Linked DNA regions of Homo sapiens: region 2 is linked to region 1. Evidence: promoter capture Hi-C in 16 types of primary human blood cells and fetal thymus (Javierre and others, 2016). All regions are on one chromosome and are shown on one strand. Each heading gives the region's core, a stretch centred on a gene start or on the middle of the fragment in contact. The rest is flanking DNA. Distances are from core to core; before and after follow the strand shown. Region 1 holds the start of PCDHB16 (protocadherin beta 16). Region 2 holds the start of PCDHB1 (protocadherin beta 1).

Region 1 (6,426 bases), core at 2,575-5,074:
TCCTATTTTCGGGTCCTCACCCGCAAACGCAGTGATGGCAGGAAATACCCAGAGCTGGTGCTGGACAAAGCGCTGGACCGAGAGGAAGAAGCTGAGCTCAGGTTAACACTCACAGCACTGGATGGTGGCTCTCCGCCCAGATCTGGCACTGCTCAGGTCTACATTGAAGTTGTCGATGTCAATGATAATGCCCCTGAATTTGAGCAGCCTTTCTATAGGGTGCAGATCTCTGAGGACAGTCCAATAAGCTTCCTGGTTGTGAAGGTCTCTGCCACGGATGTAGACACAGGAGTCAACGGAGAGATTTCCTATTCACTTTTCCAAGCTTCAGATGAGATAAGCAAAACTTTTAAGGTCGATTTCTTGACAGGAGAAATTCGACTAAAGAAACAACTTGATTTCGAAAAATTTCAGTCCTATGAAGTCAATATCGAGGCGAGAGATGCTGGAGGCTTTTCTGGAAAATGCACCGTTCTGATTCAAGTGATAGATGTGAACGACCATGCCCCAGAAGTTACCATGTCTGCATTTACCAGCCCAATACCTGAGAATGCGCCTGAAACTGTGGTTGCACTTTTCAGTGTTTCAGACCTTGATTCAGGAGAAAATGGGAAAATAAGTTGCTCCATTCAGGAGGATCTACCCTTCCTCCTGAAATCTTCTGTGGGGAACTTTTACACCCTACTAACAGAGACACCACTAGACAGAGAAAGCAGAGCCGAGTACAACGTCACTATCACCGTCACTGACTTAGGGACACCCAGGCTGACAACACATCTCAATATGACCGTGCTGGTGTCGGACGTCAATGACAACGCCCCCGCCTTCACCCAAACCTCCTACACCCTGTTCGTCCGCGAGAACAACAGCCCCGCCCTGCACATCGGCAGCGTCAGCGCCACAGACAGAGACTCGGGCACCAACGCCCAGGTCACCTACTCGCTGCTGCCGCCCCAGGATCCGCACCTGCCCCTCGCCTCCCTGGTCTCCATCAACACAGACAACGGCCACCTGTTCGCCCTCAGGTCGCTGGACTACGAGGCCCTGCAGGCGTTCGAGTTCCGGGTGGGCGCTTCAGACCGCGGCTCCCCGGCTTTGAGCAGCGAGGCGCTGGTGCGCGTGCTGGTGCTGGACGCCAACGACAACTCGCCCTTCGTGCTGTACCCGCTGCAGAATGGCTCCGCGCCCTGCACCGAGCTGGTGCCCCGGGCGGCCGAGCCGGGCTACCTGGTGACCAAGGTGGTGGCGGTGGACGGCGACTCGGGCCAGAACGCCTGGCTGTCGTACCAGCTGCTCAAGGCCACGGAGCCCGGGCTGTTCGGTGTGTGGGCGCACAATGGCGAGGTGCGCACCGCCAGGCTGCTGAGCGAGCGCGACGCGGCCAAGCAGAGGCTGGTGGTGCTGGTCAAGGACAATGGCGAGCCTCCGTGCTCGGCCACCGCCACGCTGCACGTGCTCCTGGTGGACGGCTTCTCCCAGCCCTACCTGCCGCTTCCGGAGGCTGCCCCAGCCCAGGGCCAGGCCGACTCTCTCACCGTCTACCTGGTGGTGGCGTTGGCCTCGGTGTCTTCGCTCTTCCTCTTCTCGGTGCTCCTGTTCGTGGCGGTGCTGCTGTGTAGGAGGAGCAGGGCGGCCTCGGTGGGTCGCTGCTCAGTGCCTGAGGGCCCCTTTCCAGGGCATCTGGTGGACGTGAGGGGCACCGGGAGCCTGTCTCAGAACTATCAGTACGAGGTGTGCCTGGCAGGAGGCTCAGGGACGAATGAGTTCCAGCTCCTGAAACCAGTATTACCTAATATTCAGGGCCATTCTTTTGGGCCAGAAATGGAACAAAACTCTAACTTTAGGAATGGCTTTGGTTTCAGCCTTCAGTTAAAGTAATTGATTTCATATTATATATTTTAATTTTTATGATCAATTCAAAGGAATGGTTTTCTGTCAACTTAGCATAAATTTTAAATTACACTACATTTGCCCATAGTATTTGTCTTGTTTTCACTGTTTTAAAAAATGATATCTCATCTTCTCTTCATTAGTATATCCAGTGGACTCTAATCATAATTCTTTAACAGTGCAATTTTTGTTAAAATGTACATAGTAAAATGCACAGATCTGAAGTGAAGAAATTAATGTAACTGATCTTTTTAAGCCTTTATTTTTTGATTTCTAATCTAGGTAAAATTTAGTTAAAAGTGGTGTAGAGAATGTTTTACATTTATTGCCTTTTAAATGTTTCCCCAAGTCCTAAGGGAGTTGACATATTATCCCCTTTTTTAAATATGAGAAAACTGAGGCTTAGAAAGGTAACTTGGCTGTGAGCTGTGGCTCACACCTGTAATCATAACACTTTGAGAGGCTGAGGCAAGCTGAACCCTTTGAGCTCAGTAGTTCGAGACCAGCCTGGGCAATGGGGCAAAACACTGACACTAACAAAAATACAAAAATTAGCCAGGTGTGATTGCGAACCTGTAGTCCCAGCTACTCAGGAGGCTGAGGTAAGAGGATCCCCTGAGCCCAGGAGACAGAGACTACAGTGAGCCAAGATTGTGCCATTGCACTCCAGGCTGGGTGACAGAGTGAGACCTCATTCCCCCCCACAAAAAACGATTAACTTTCTTATAATTCTGAAATAATAAAGGTAAAAATTTAAAATATAATCTAAGTCTAGCCAATATGCTATATGGTCAGGCATTAACTGATAGCATTGTTTTTCTAACTAAGGAAGTGAAATTTATGTTATTCCTACTCCTACTCCATGAACTAAACTCTCATGTGAAAATATAAGTTTTAGTTTATAGTTTGTTTATACTACTCTGCACAAATATACCCATGTTCTTATCAAAGCTCTAAGTATGCTGGGACAGATACTACAAATGAACTTTATGATGAGCGAATTAACCTGATTTATAGTCCTGTACTTTCTCTACGTGCCATATCCATTATTAAAGAAATGAGTCTAAGTAGGAAGTAGAGTTAACCTATAGTTTCATTTCTTGAATTTCTTATTCTCTTTCTTCAGTCTTTTTCAGTTAACCTACACACACACACACACACACACACACACACACACACACACACATATGTTTATAAGTGGGATGGGAGAACGGGTACGGTGATAATTAAAAGAGGTAAGGTTTCTCTTGAGATGAAAATGTTCTAAAATTGTGATGGCGGATGCACACCTCTGAATATATTAAAAGCCATTGAAATGAAAAAAGGGTGGGGGGAATCCAAAAGTGTAGCAGACCCAACCTTGAGATTTGCTTGTTTGGGAATGAATTTTCCAATAACTTGAAAGTTGTAAAAACTCACACTTCTCAGGGTTAGGTGTCAGAAAGAAAAGGAAGTAATTTATTCTTTAATAAAGCAATTGTTAAATACTCTTTAGAACTACCACTGATTGCAATTTTGCAGTGTCTACTCATAGTGTCTATATAGGTACCATGAAAAAGATGTACTTGTGAAACTGTTCTCATGTTACTTCAGAAAAATTTTGCTTCTAAGTGTGTATTCTATGTCTGGTTAAATGTTCATTGAATTTTATTTAATCATTAATCTCAACAGCATTAAACAGTCAATAACATAAATGACAGTCTTCTCTTTGTACTCCTCCCTGTACAACATCACAGAGCTCCATCTGTATACACGAAAGTCACATGAAAATAGAACTCAGTGTTTTGTATTACATAGTCTATTCAGTACATTTAGAAGTATTTTGCCTCCAATATTCAACCACAGTAAAAGACTCAGTGAGAACGCGTGGTGGCGCTGCAGGTTAAGATGACGGAAAATACAACTGCCTACGCAGCTCCAGGATCCAGCAAACCGTTTCCCAAAGCCTGGAAGCAGAAGAATAGCTGAGCCAGAGCGAACGTGAGTGTGAAACCTCTTTAAGACACCGTTGGGCTGCTTGGTTCTGACATTCTGGACTGCAAAACAGTTCTACTAGGATCCTGGGGATACATGAAGCTTCTGTGAACCAACTTTTCAAGAAAAAGCAATGGAGATTGGATGGATGCACAATCGGAGACAAAGGCAAGTCCTTGTTTTCTTTGTTTTGCTGAGCTTGTCTGGGGCGGGCGCCGAGTTGGGGTCCTATTCCGTAGTGGAAGAAACGGAGAGAGGCTCTTTTGTGGCAAATCTAGGAAAAGACCTGGGGTTGGGGTTGACAGAGATGTCCACCCGCAAGGCCAGGATCATTTCCCAGGGGAACAAACAGCATTTGCAGCTCAAGGCTCAAACTGGGGATTTGCTCATAAATGAGAAGCTAGATCGAGAGGAGCTATGCGGTCCCACTGAGCCTTGCATACTACATTTCCAAGTGTTAATGGAAAACCCTTTAGAAATATTTCAGGCTGAACTGAGGGTGATAGATATAAATGACCATTCTCCCATGTTCACTGAAAAGGAAATGATTCTAAAAATACCGGAAAACAGTCCTCTAGGAACTGAGTTCCCTCTGAATCATGCTTTGGACTTGGACGTAGGAAGCAATAATGTTCAAAACTATAAAATCAGCCCAAGCTCTCATTTCCGGGTTCTAATCCATGAATTCAGAGATGGCAGGAAATACCCTGAGCTAGTGTTGGATAAAGAGCTGGATCGGGAGGAGGAGCCTCAACTAAGATTAACCCTGACAGCGCTGGATGGTGGCTCTCCACCGCGATCTGGAACTGCTCAGGTCCGTATTGAAGTGGTGGACATCAATGATAACGCTCCTGAGTTTGAGCAGCCCATCTACAAAGTGCAGATTCCAGAGAACAGTCCTCTTGGCTCCCTGGTTGCCACCGTCTCCGCCAGGGATTTAGACGGCGGAGCCAATGGAAAAATATCATACACACTCTTTCAGCCTTCGGAGGATATTAGTAAAACTTTGGAGGTAAATCCTATGACAGGGGAAGTTCGACTGAGAAAGCAAGTAGATTTCGAAATGGTTACGTCTTATGAAGTGCGCATCAAAGCCACAGATGGGGGAGGTCTTTCAGGAAAGTGCACTCTTCTCCTGCAGGTGGTGGACGTGAATGACAATCCCCCACAGGTGACCATGTCTGCACTCACCAGCCCCATCCCAGAGAACTCGCCTGAGATAGTAGTTGCTGTTTTCAGCGTTTCAGATCCTGACTCCGGAAACAATGGGAAGACGATTTCCTCCATCCAGGAAGACCTTCCCTTTCTTCTAAAACCTTCAGTCAAGAACTTTTACACCTTGGTAACGGAGAGAGCACTCGACAGAGAAGCAAGAGCTGAATATAATATCACCCTCACCGTCACAGATATGGGGACTCCAAGGCTGAAAACGGAGCACAACATAACAGTGCAGATATCAGATGTCAATGATAACGCCCCCACTTTCACCCAAACCTCCTACACCCTGTTCGTCCGCGAGAACAACAGCCCCGCCCTGCACATCGGCAGCGTCAGCGCCACAGACAGAGACTCGGGCACCAACGCCCAGGTCACCTACTCGCTGCTGCCGCCCCAAGACCCGCACCTGCCCCTCGCCTCCCTGGTCTCCATCAACGCGGACAACGGCCACCTGTTCGCCCTCAGGTCGCTGGACTACGAGGCCCTGCAGGCTTTCGAGTTCCGCGTGGGCGCCACAGACCGCGGCTCCCCCGCGCTGAGCAGAGAGGCGCTGGTGCGCGTGCTGGTGCTGGACGCCAACGACAACTCGCCCTTCGTGCTGTACCCGCTGCAGAACGGCTCCGCGCCCTGCACTGAGCTGGTGCCCCGGGCGGCCGAGCCGGGCTACCTGGTGACCAAGGTGGTGGCGGTGGACGGCGACTCGGGCCAGAATGCCTGGCTGTCGTACCAGCTGCTCAAGGCCACGGAGCCCGGGCTGTTCGGTGTGTGGGCGCACAATGGCGAGGTGCGCACCGCCAGGCTGCTGAGCGAGCGCGACGCAGCCAAGCAGAGGCTGGTGGTGCTGGTCAAGGACAATGGCGAGCCTCCGCGCTCGGCCACCGCCACGCTGCACGTGCTCCTGGTGGACGGCTTCTCCCAGCCCTTCCTGCCGCTCCCAGAGGCGGCCCCCGGCCAGACCCAGGCCAACTCGCTCACTGTCTACCTGGTGGTGGCGTTGGCCTCGGTGTCGTCGCTCTTCCTCTTTTCGGTGCTCCTGTTCGTGGCGGTGCGGCTGTGCAGGAGGAGCAGGGCGGCCTCGGTGGGCCGCTGCTCGATGCCTGAGGGCCCCTTTCCAGGGCGTCTGGTGGACGTAAGCGGCACCGGGACCCTGTCCCAGAGCTACCAATACGAGGTGTGTCTGACAGGAGGCTCAGAAACAAGTGAGTTCAAGTTCCTGAAGCCGATTATCCCCAACTTCTCTCCTTAGGGCACTAGGAAAGAAATAGATTAAAATTCCACCCTTCACAATAGCTTTGGATTTAATTATTGATAGGAACCCATTTGATAAATTCCTTAACTTCTTAT
Region 2 (6,426 bases), core at 3,725-6,224, 130 kb before region 1:
GCAGGGCAAAGGGGGTAGGATGAGCAGATGGCATGATCAGGGCACTTTAACTGGAGATATGATTTTCCCTCCTGTGGTTGGCCAGTTCTCAGAATAAACTGTTAAGTGGGAGATGTTCTGCTTTTTAGAGCTTGCTCAAGTTTTGGGGCCAGCTAAAGTTCAGGGACCTGTGGGGAGAAGAGAAGCCTTATTAAAGTTTAGTTAAGGTAAGCCAATGGGTAAGTCATAAGTGATTACAAACACTCTTGTAACTCTTCCAAAACTCTGAAATATTTTGAAATAAGATTTTTGAAGTTTAAAAGTTAGTACTAAGATACAGTTTTGAAATGAATTTTTGTTCTCCCAAAACTTCATGATATCCTACTAACTGTGGGTTGTCCCTCTTCCCAACATGTAGGTTTTGATCCTGACTTTACAAGCTACGACGCTGTAGATTTAGTCTGTGGGTTCCCAATTTTACCTTCACCAGAAAGTATACAGGCTTAAAAAAAAAAAAAAAACTGCCACCATGTTTAAAGGTCCTAACATTTTCCAAGGAAAAAGAAAATATTTTGGATTTTAATTCCATCTAGCAGATATTAATAAATCGCCTGGGGCTAACCAAACAGATTAAGATTCAGAGGAACTGAATTGAAAAGCAGCATTTCTGTGCCTGGCTTATTTCACTTAACATAACGTCCTTCATGTTCATCCATGTTGTGACAAATTGCAGGATTTCCTTCTTTGTGAAGGCTGAAGAATATTCCATTATGTACATATACTACATTTTCTTTATTCATTTACCCACCGATGGGCACTTAGGCTGATTCCATATCTCAGCTATTGTGAGTAATATTGCAATGAACATGGGAGTGCTGATATCTCTTCAACATACTGATTTCATTTCCTTTGAAAATATCCCCAGTAGTGGGATTGCTGGATTCTATGGTAGATCTATTTTTAATTTTTTGAGGACCTTCTATACTGTTTTTCATAATGGTGTGACCTCATTTATACGTGGAATCTTAAAAAGTTGACCTCATAGAACTAGAGAGTAGAATGGTGGTTGCCAGGGGCTGGGATGAGGAAGGAGAGGTTGGAGAGCCAAAAGGATACAAAATTTCAGTTAGGAGAAATAAGTTCAAAAGATCTATTATTCAACATGGTGGCTATAGTTAATAACAATGTACCATATTCTTGAAAAATGCCCAAGACATGGATGGTAAATATTCTCACCACAAAAATAATAACTACGTGAGGTAATATATATGTTAATTAGCTGAATTTAGTCATTCTACAATATAAATATGCTACAAAATACTATGTTGTCTATGATTAATTTTATCTGTCAGTTAAAAATAAACTAACAAAAAAAAAGAAAATAAAAAAAGAAAAGCAGCATTGCTTAAACTTCACCTCATAAGAATTTTTTTTGTTTTGAGACAGATACTGACTCTGTCACCCAGGCTGGAGTGCAGTGGTACAGTCATAGCTCACTGTAACCTCAAGTTCCTGACCTCAAGCAATGCTCTCCCCTCAAGTAACTGGGACTACAGGCTTTGTCACCATGCCTTATTTATGTATGTATGTATGTAGAGACAAGGGTCTTGCTATGTTACCCAGGCTGGTCTCAAACTCCTGGCCTCAAGTGATCTTCCTGCCTCAGCCTCCTAAAGTACTAGGATCACAAGCATGAGCCACCACACCCAGCCAAGAATGTATTTGTTAACTTACAATTTTTTTGATGAATTATTTTGAAATTGATTGTATTAAGACTTCCTAGGATGTCAGAAGCTTCTGCATAATTTGTGAATCACTAAATAAATATTTCCTTTTAAAAAAAACCTCCCCAATAGCCTTTTTGATGATGCTAAATAACATTAGTGGGTAGTATACTCCATTTTTTTTTTCTATCGAAATTGCTCAAGGCTATTCTCTGTTTATGTATATTGACTAAGCATAAACATCTTTTTTAATATATTCAGGACTCATAGAACATAAAGAAGTAATAGAAATTAATAGAAAAAAAGGTAAACAATGCAATGTTAAAAAAAGGCAAGAGAACTGAACAAAAACTTCCCAAAAAATGATATTCCAATGACTACAAATATATTAAATAGTGTCTACTTCATCAATAATTAATGAGAAATGCAAATTAATCAGTGAAATGTAAACACAGTCACTCACCAGAATGGTCAAAATTTTAAAAGACTAGTAATTCTAAGTGTTGGAAATAATTTGAGCAACTAGAAGTTGCACTGCTGATGAGAGTGTAAATCAGTACAACTTTTTTTTTTTTTGGATGGCGTCTCACTCTGTGGCTCAGGCTGGAGTGCAATGGCGCGATCTCTGCTCACTGCAACCTCCATCTCCTGGGTTGAAGTGATTCTCCTGCCTCAGCCTCCTGAGTAGCTGGGATAACAGGCACGCACAACCATCCCTGGCTAATTTTTGTATTTTCAGTAGAGACGGGGTTTCACCATGTTGGTCAGGCTCATCTTGAACTCCTGACCTCATAATTGGTCTGCCTCGGCCTCTCAAAGTGTTGGGATTACAGGCGTGAGCCACCACGCCCAGCCAGTACAACTTCTTAGAAAGCAGTTTGGTGACATCACGTAAAGCTGAAAAGAACATATCCTATGATATCAATGCTACTTCTATGTATATATTCCCCCCCAAAATATGTGTATACATGTGCACAAAGTGACACGTACAATGATATGCTATGAGCAGCAGAATAATAAAATAGGTAAATGCATTTTGCTGCATTCATACTGAAAAAGACAAAAGCAGTCCACGAGAGCTAGGAGCTGGCCTGACACTCACAGCTAGGACATAGTGATCTTCTGTTGAACAAAAAATGATTTCATAGGACACCAGTATCAGACAAGGCCATACCATGACTATGATGGAGCAAGAGGAAAATGAGAGCACACCATAAGTGTGTCTAAATACAGACAAAAAAGAGTATTGTCCAATCCACAAAAATGCCCAAACATCTTTCTGTCCTGGCTAGTATTAGTCACTTCAGCTTACTTACCAATCACAGAGTTAGCCTCACCCCTTTCCTCTCACCTTCTACATAAGAATTATCAATATACTCATCATAGAGTTAACTCCACTTATGATGACATCCAATCCAGAGCACTCTGCTTCAAACCTCCCCCAAATCATCTAACACAAGACCAAATATATGTTCTTTCTAACACCGTTTCACTGAGATGCTCCATGACTCTCTATGGTGTACAGCTTCCCTTGTTATAATAAGTCAGTAAATATAACTTTGTTCAACTACAGGTGTGTGTCTGATGGTCTCTAGCTAAAGGACATTGACAATATATTGGTATTTTATACGGTAATGGAAATAAATGAACTAGAGCTAAAGATAACACCAATCTTACATTGAGCTAAAAAATGAGGGAAAGAAACAAAATTCAAAGGATTACCTACTGTACACTTTACTTGATACATAGTTTTGTTTTATTTCTACTCATACTCAAGTAAGATATATAGTTTTCAAAAGAGGCAAAACTAAACTGTTTAAGGATGCACACTTAAGCCAGGTGTTAAAATAACTGACAGAGATTGAGAGATTCATTAATTCCCTCATGTCAGGATGTAATTAATGTTCTGTACACTTTCTACTTTCATTCTTTTTTTCCTATTGGAAAATATAGTTAGATTTCCGTTAAGTGGCCATAATTTTATAGCACCTGGGACATAAAGTATTGAGCACAAATGAGAAATCAAATGTTTTAGGTAATGAGCATGAGACAGCATCAGAAGACAAGTTCTAGTTCTTACACTGCCATGAGTAGCTGTATGAATTGGGCAAGTGACTTCATCACTTCGGGCCTTAGTTTCTTCATCTGTTTTTTTTTTTTTTTAAAGTGGAGAGTGGGTGAGAAGGAGACTGGATCTCATCTTTCTGAAATGTCTTATTAAACATTCTATTATCCTATGATCATAAAGGAAACTCAACAAATATCTCCTATATTTCTATTAGGTCATTTTCAATATGTGTAAGCAATCTTATTTTATTTGCTTTAAAATCCAAAACCAAATATTTATCTTCATTTGATTTATTCATTATATTATCTGGGAAGCAGAGTAGTGTACTGATTAAGAGCATAGACTTCGGAGTCAGACAAAATTAAATTGAGTTTTATTTCTAACATTTGCTAGGTAGGGGACCTTGACATAACCTCTCCCATCTCACTTTCTTTGTCTTTTTTTTTTTTTAATAATGTCTACTCCATATAGTTGTTGCAAGTATTAAATTAAATAATGCATGTAAATCACTTGTCATAGTCTCAGTACATGGAAATCATATCCAATAAATACTACTGCCATTATAATCATAAGTGACAAGCCAGCTGCTCCCTTTGTGCACGTGTATACAGATATTTGGAGGGGGGCGGAGCGAATACGTAGAAGTAGCATGATAGCGTAGTGCAAATCAAGAGGTCAGTTGGCTTAGTCCCCTGTCAGTGTACTTACTGGACCTCAAGTTTCTGAAGGAGAATGTCTGTTCCCATTCCTTTTCCTACTGACCACTTCCTCCACATTCTCTAGCTCCCTGCCTCATATATTTGGCTTGGGCTTCGGAAGACTCTGCAGGATCCTTGTGCTTCTTTCTTGGTCTCTGGATGGACCGCAGAGTGTGCAGATGTAGCTTAAACTTGTTGCTGTTCGCCCACAGCTTCAGTGGCTCCAGACAGCTAGCAGATAGAATGACTTCAGCTTGAACGACTAATCTCATTGGCTTCTCAATTCCCAAGGACTTTTTTTCCTGAAAGGGAATTAACAGGTGAGTCTGTTGTTGCTTTGGCAACAAACTTTCAACCTCTACCTAACTCTCCGGAATGAGAACATATCTATTAATACATTCGCTAGACTGGGGAGTTGAGTCGCTCAATGCAAATTTTCTTTCAAGTGCAAAACAGCTTAATGGGCTCGGCTAGCCTTTGGTGGTGCTGCAGTTAGAGGCTAGTGAAGCGGAGAGCAGCTGTTGCAGTAACCTGTTGCAGAAAAGTGAAAGTATATCCGCAACAGTTGGCTCTGATTGCAGAGAGCGCGCTTGTGAGAACTGATGGCGGGTACGCGCAGAAAATCTTTGCAAAACAGGCAAGTGGGATCTCTTCTCATTTTTCTGTGCATATCTGTGGGGGATGCGACAACTATCCGCTATTCAGTGGCAGAGGAAATGGAGAGCGGCTCGTTTGTGGCCAACGTAGCTAAGGACCTAGGACTGGAGGTAGGGAAGCTGGCTGCGCGCGGGGCGCGGCTGGTTTCCGAGGGCAACAAAATGCATTTCCGGCTCCACCGCAAGACGGGAGATTTGTTTGTGAAGGAGAAACTGGATCGGGAGTCACTTTGTGGCAAAGCCGACCCTTGTGTTCTGCACTTTGAAGTAGTCCTGGTGGAGCCGCTGCAGTCCTTCCGGGCCGAGGTCAGGGTATTTGATATCAATGACAATGCCCCAGTTTTCCTAAACAAGGAGCCGCTTTTAAAGATTCCGGAGAGCACCCCTTTGGGTTCACGTTTTCCTCTGCAGAGCGCCCAGGATCTGGACGTGGGCCTTAACGGTCTCCAGAACTACACCCTGAGTGCCAATGGGTATTTCCACCTGCACACCCGCTTCTGCAGCCACGGGCCTAAATATGCTGAGCTGGTGCTGAACAAACCCCTGGACCGAGAGGAGCAGCCTGAAGTCAACTTGACAATTACGGCGGTGGACGGCGGGTCCCCGCCTAAGTCTGGCACAGCTCACATCCACGTGGTGGTTCTGGATGTCAACGACCACGTGCCCCAGTTCTCGCGACTGGTGTACAGAGCCCAGGTATCAGAGAACAGCCCCAATGGCTCTTTGGTGGCCACGGTGACTGCCGTGGACCTAGACGAGGGCACCAACAAAGCGATAACTTACTCTTTAGCTCAAAACCCAGAAGCAATTCTCAAGACGTTTCAGATTGACCCTCAAAATGGAGAAGTTCGACTAAGAGGACCCCTCGATTTTGAAGCCATTGAAACATACGACATTGACATTCAAGCTACAGATGGTGGAGGCCTCTCTGCCCACAGCAAAGTCCTGGTAGAAGTGGTGGATGTGAATGACAATCCTCCCGAAGTGATGGTCTCCTCTGTGTCCAGCCCACTCCCTGAAGACTCACCACCACAGACAGTAGTAGCCCTTTTCACTATCAGAGACCGGGACATTCGAGTGGGAGGAAAAGTCACCTGCTTCCTCAGAGAAGACCTTCCCTTTGTAATCAAACCTACATTTGGGAATTCTTACTCACTGGTCACTGACAGAAGCTTGGATCGGGAGGAGGTCTCAGGCTATAATATCACCATTGTTGCCATGGATACTGGACCACCTAGCTTGTCTGCCGAGACTATGATAGAGGTGCTAATATCCGACGTTAATGACAATCCTCCAATATT

The links. Contacts are between HindIII fragments. The CHiCAGO score rates a contact against its expected background, and 5 or more counts as called.
Region 2: a contact is called between the fragment with the promoter of PCDHB1 here and the fragment with the promoter of PCDHB16 in region 1, in 3 of 17 cell types (M2 macrophages, neutrophils and M1 macrophages). The highest score is 6.1, in M2 macrophages.

Annotation. Positions count from the first base shown.
Region 1 is chr5:141,178,563-141,184,988 of GRCh38, forward strand. PCDHB16 (protocadherin beta 16) reads left to right here and starts at 3,825. Exons shown (of 1, transcript NM_020957.4): 1 at 3,825-6,426. The coding sequence starts at 3,998. The coding sequence ends at 6,328. PCDHB8 (protocadherin beta 8) reads left to right here. Exons shown (of 1, transcript NM_019120.5): 1 at 1-1,977. The coding sequence ends at 1,878. It also overlaps PCDHB@. The HindIII fragment of the contact is 3,641 bases long and covers 324-3,964 here.
Region 2 is chr5:141,046,400-141,052,825 of GRCh38, forward strand. PCDHB1 (protocadherin beta 1) reads left to right here and starts at 4,975. Exons shown (of 1, transcript NM_013340.4): 1 at 4,975-6,426. The coding sequence starts at 5,072. It overlaps PCDHB1-AS1 (PCDHB1 antisense RNA 1), which reads right to left. Exons shown (of 4, transcript NR_105056.2): 3 at 4,480-4,771; 4 at 1-167. It also overlaps PCDHB@. RefSeq lists an enhancer at 4,556-5,384. The HindIII fragment of the contact is 4,524 bases long and covers 1,772-6,295 here.